2 separate regions of the Homo sapiens genome follow, and region 1 is linked to region 2. The links are contacts of gene promoters, found by promoter capture Hi-C in human tissues and cell types (Jung and others, 2019). All regions are on one chromosome and are shown on one strand. The core of a region is centred on a gene start or on the middle of the fragment in contact, and the rest is flanking DNA. Distances in the headings are between cores, read along the strand shown.

Region 1 (2,700 bases), core at 201-2,700, 73 kb before region 2:
GCTGGAAGCTGGGAGAGAAAGAGGAAAGAGAGATTATTGTCTCCTGAGTTCCCCTTTACGGTTTCATCTCTTCTTCCTTATTTTCTTAAGCAAGGTTTGTGACAGCCACAGTGAAAGAAGCCAGGGGGCAGGAAAAGACAAGGAGCCTAGCAGGTGCATGACTCCTGCCCCTCAGCTTCCCTTTACAGCAGACCCTTCTCTTGTGAGCATTACAGAGTCGGGAGACTAGAGGATCTCCCCCTTCTCAGAACACTTCACAGCCCTTCCCTTGGGTTTTTTTTCCCCTGGCTGCTCCCCCTCTAGTTCCTGGTTTCCTATATATGGGAACTCCCTTAGGGGTCCTATATCACTTAGAAGCAGACCTCTTAGGCAGGATTTTAAAGAGGACCTGGGCTGAAATTCTCACTTCAGAACCACATCTGGTCTTTAGAAATACTTGGGCTTTCCCTCCTCACATCTTTGGAATGTTGGTCCAGCTAGGGTTGAGGGATAAAACACAGGGTGCTAAGTTCACTTTGAATTTCAGATGAACAAGGAGTCATTTTTAAACTATAAGTATATCCCAAATAGTGCATGGGATATACTTATGCTAAACAATTTTGCTGCTATCCATCCTAATACTGATTGGATATTTGGGAATAGCTTGTCTAGCTCTCTCCATCTCCCCCTTGTGTAATAGCATAATGCTATGAGCAGCTTGCCTTGTGTCTACCCAGCAGGCTGTCCACTACTTTCATCTCTGTGACCCTGGTCAGGCTACTTATTCACTCTGTGCTTCAGTTGCATTATCTGCTAAATGGAGATAATCATGGAACCTCCTGCATAGGGCTGTTGTGACAATCACAATTAAACTGAGATAATACACAGGTACAGTTGTTTGGGCAGTGTCTGCCACATAGCAAATTCTCAATAGGTATTGACTGTTATTAGTATTATTATGGTGATAGTGATTGTTGTTGCTATTGCATGAAGAGAGGAAGAACTAGAGCCTCCAGATAGGTTATTTTCTGGAGAAAGGAGCCAGAACTAGAAGGATGGGGTTCCTGTGAATGAGGAATTGGCAAGGAACAGGATGGTTATTATTAGCATGCCTTGTGGGAGACAGTGAGGCAGAGATGGGGAGTCATGGAGGGGCAGAGATGGCAAGGAGCCAGGAAGCTTGAGAGAGGTTCTCTTGGCCTAGGAACGAGAGAGATTTTCAGGCATGCTAGAGAATAGAGAGGATGTAGGCATTTGACAAGAACACCCACGGATTGTGCAGAAATACATAGTGATAAAGAGAAAACTCTGGTCAGACCACCTGGGTTCAAATCCTGACTGCCTCAGCAGCTATGGGCAAGTTACTTGACTTTTCCTGTTTGCCTCCATGTCCCATCAGTAAAATAGAGCTAATAATATCTGCCTCAAAGGATTGTTTTGAAAATAAAATGAGTTCACAAATGCAATTACTTGGAAATTAATTGCTTGCTAATTAATTGCTAGCGATCGTTATACTTTGAGTCCCTTAAATGTTTAAAAGAGAAGAGTTTAAAAATTAGAATTCCTGTTTAGACTACACAGTTTGTAAGCTGCAACACTACCCTGGGACTGAATTACCTGGGACACAGCATTGTATGCATGACCTAAATAGACATCTTTTTATAATTTCCCCCAAAACAGAGGGGGAAAGTAATAGTACCTTCCTGAATCCAGGTGTGTCAGTGTATGCCTGTCATCCCAGCTACTTGGGAGGCTGAGATGGGAGGTTCACTTGAGCCCAGGAATTCAAGACCAGCCTGGGCAACATAGTTAGACCTTGGTTCAAAAAAAGATAGAGAGGAAAGGAAAAGAAAAGATTGTTAGGGGCATTACATGAGTTAATACATAGAAGACGCCTGAAACTTAGAGAATACTCAAAAAATGTTGGTGATTGTGATTGTCATTATACTGTAGTTATTCTTCTGCATAGAGATGTGAAGCTGCATAGAAAAGGAAACTCTCACCAGAGCTCCTGAGAATTGAAATTTTCCAGGTGACTGCATGTCACTGTTCTCAACCATTGTATTCCATTTTCTTTTCTTTTAATGCCCTTGTCAGGATCACCCAGGTAACAGGGTTATCCTGTCCTCATAAAATGAATTGGGAAGTGTTCCCTTTTTCTCTGCTCTCTGAAAGAGTTTGTGCAAGATGGTATTATTTATTCCTTCAATGTTTGGTAGAATTACCATTGAAGCCAGAAGGGCTTGGAGCTTTTTCGTGGGGAGGTTTTTAATGATTGATTCAGTTTCTTCAATAGACACTGAAATATTCAACTTTTTAATTTCTTTTTCTGATAGTTGAGAAAGGTATGTTTTTATCAGGAAGTTCCTCTGGTTACTTGAAATCATCAAAGTTATTGGTAAAAAGTTGTTCAAACTATCCCTTTGTATCCCTTTGATATTGTAAGATCTGAGTCATGTCTTTTTAAAATTCTTGTCATCTATTAAGTTCTGACCTTAGAGTGTCCCTAGCAGGGAAGCTATATTGCCTTCTTAAATTTGTAACTTTGTTGCTATTCATGAGTATCAGACACACACACACACACACACACACACACACACACACACACACACACACGCACACACCACACACCAATTCCTGTTGAGTTAGAGGAGCAAATTTGCAAGAATCCCCTACTGCTCCAGAAATCTGCCCTCATATTTTAAAGTACAATAGGCAAAT
Region 2 (2,700 bases), core at 58-2,557:
CATCCCACAGAGGGGGAGCCTGGGGGGCTCAGGGGAGGCCTGCTGGGAGTGATGGGGTACAGAGATGCTGGAGAGGTGTCTGCATTCCAGGTAGGAACTGGCTTTCAGGACAGCCTGAAAGCAGACCTGCAGGGCACTAACTGCAGAGGGTGTGCGTGGGGAATTTACATTATTGAGTACCTACTATTTGCAGTACCAGCTGTACTATGAAGTAATCACGAGGTCTGTGAATTATCCCCTCCACAGCAGCAGAGCCCAGTGGCTAACTGGTATACCCTGAAGCCAGCCCGCTGGTTAGAAATCACGGCAGTACCATTAATAGCTGAGTGGCGTGGTTGGCGACGTAGCTCTCTGAGTCTCAGTTTTCTGAGCTGAAGAATGAAAATAACATCTTTACCATAAAGGGATGTTCAAAGTAAGTGTTCAGTGAATTTGAAGAGAAATTGTTTAGAAGAATGCCTGATACATAGTAAGTGCTCAATAAATGTTAACTGTTATTTTCATTAACTATTTTTTTTTGAGACGGAGTCTCGCTCTGTGCCCAGGCTGGAGTGCAGTGACGTGATCTCAGCTCACTGCAACCTTGTCTCCTAGGTTCAAGTGATTCTCCTGCCTCAGCCTCCCGAGTATCTGGAACTACAGGTATGCACCACCACAAACCAGATAATTTTTGTATTTTTAGTAGAGACAGGGTTTCACCATGTTGGTCAGGCTGATCTCAAACTCCTGACCTCAGGTGATCCACCCCCCTCAGCCTCCCAGAGTGCTGGGATTACAGATGTGAGCCACTGTGCCCAGCCTCATTAAACTTTTTTTAAGGGGAGAAAACCAGCAGAGAGATATGAGGTCACCTGCCCAAGGTCTCATAGCTAGGGAGGGACAGAGCTGAGATTTGAAGCGAGGTACAAGTCAGGCTAAAGACAGGAAGGGGGCTGGGGAAGGAGACCAGAGCCACTGCTCCCAGTACTTGGCAGGGGTCTGATTATCACCTGTGAGTCCCAAGAGCAGGGATCAGGCTCCCCTTGGGGCACACAACTATGGAGTGGGAGGGAAAGGGAAGCTGTATGGTTTCTCTGTGCCTCAGTTTCCTTCTCTGTAAAATGGGGCTAATTCTACCTTCCTGCTACCAAGATTAGAGACATCGCTTGGAAAAGGCTGTCTTTTCCTCTTCCCACACCTTCCACCCGCTCTTGCTTGTGGGCAGAGGATGAGGCAGCTTGCCCAACCCTCTGGGAGGTGGGCCCCGAAAAGGGCGGGACAAGGCAGCCAGGAGAGCTTCATTAAAGAGTGGAAAAGCAGAAGTGGCAGGGATTCCCAAGTCCCAGCGATTCCCCCACTTCCTCTCCACCTGCCACAGCTGCCAGCGACCGCCCGCCTGAAACCACTGCCATTTGGACAGCATGCCAGGCCACCCAGGAGCAGCTGAGCAACTTGTCAAGACCGGGTAGGTCTGGGGACTTTGGACACTGAGGGCTACAGGTGAGAAAACAGTCAGCCATTGGGGGTGATGGATATGAACCCAAATCTTCAGCTCTGCCATTCCTTGGCTATGTGACCTTAGGCAAATCCTCAGTTCTCTGTGAGCCTCAGTTCCCCATCTGTGAAATGGAAGTAATAATGACATCTACAAGACTGTTGCCAGAATTGAATGAGAAAACACATGCTTAGTACTTGGCACCTGCTTGGCTCAGAGGAAGCACTCACTAAACAGCAGCTAGTTTCCTTGCCATTTTCAATACCCCGTGCAGGAATTGTCATCCAATATGACTTAGGACTGGCTTTCAATCCTTAAAATTGTTTTTATTATTAGCTATTATTCCAAAAGCTACTGTGTTCCAAATATTAATTATATAGTAGAAGGGGGTGTTTAGTCCCAAATTCAAATGCCTTCGGGAGCTGGGAAGGGGTTGCACCTGTGGAAGGCCACCTGGGTGTGCAGACGGACCCGTTCATTGATCAGCAGGATGCAGTCTGCAGGGCTGCTCCCCTGTCAAAGGTGGGTAGTGGATACTCAGCTCCAGCTACCTGTTGCAAAGGTGGGAGCTCTAACCCAGATCTTCTTATCTCTCAAGAAAAGCTGGAAACCCAGATTTTAATGTGAAACTTCCTTATTTCCAAATGGGGGCAGCTTACACACACACACACACACACAGAGTGGGCCACAATAAGGCACATTTGCATATGATTCAGCCTTTAGGGCTTCAAGGTTGTGACCTTCACTCCAGCCCCACAGGCCTCACTGCATCTCAGCTTCCCACTGTTCTGGTTCTCCCAACTCCCTATTTCCCGATGGTCAGAGCACAGGACCTTTGCACACGCTGTTCCTTCTGTCAGGGATGTCCAACTCCCTTCTTCACCCACAAACTGACACTTGTCCTTCCACCCCCAGCTGGAATGTCACCTCTTCCAGGGAGCCTTCCTGACTCCCAGGTAAAACTGGGTCACTCTCCATCTATCCCACCCCAGTCCAGGCCCAGGCATACTATGCTCAGAATTCTTTGTTAATGAACTTAAACTCTAATGGTCTATTTAAGTCTCCTCAATTAGACTGTGAACTCCTTTAGTGGGACCAGGACTTAATTCATCTTTGTGTCCACAGGGGTCAGCACAGAGCCTGGGCACAGAGGAGACTCGAGTGAAACATTTACATCGTTGACATAAGTATCATCAGAGTAACAAGTGGTGCAGTTTTATAGGATC

What was found. Contacts are between HindIII fragments. The study calls those that stand out against the background at their distance.
Region 1: a contact is called between a fragment that was not itself captured here and the fragment with the promoter of OCSTAMP in region 2, in 2 of the 25 tissues and cell types used here (aorta and spleen).

What each region holds. Positions count from the first base shown.
Region 1 is chr20:46,622,517-46,625,216 of GRCh38, reverse strand. All of the region lies in intron 1 of SLC13A3 (solute carrier family 13 member 3), which reads left to right. Among named protein-coding and RNA genes, the nearest start is that of SLC13A3, 28 kb to the left of the region's middle. RefSeq lists an enhancer at 2,528-2,700. The HindIII fragment of the contact is 3,883 bases long and covers 1-2,700 here.
Region 2 is chr20:46,549,261-46,551,960 of GRCh38, reverse strand. It overlaps OCSTAMP (osteoclast stimulatory transmembrane protein), which reads left to right and starts at 1,307. Exons shown (of 3, transcript NM_080721.3): 1 at 1,307-1,444. The coding sequence starts at 1,401. The HindIII fragment of the contact is 9,290 bases long and covers 1-2,700 here.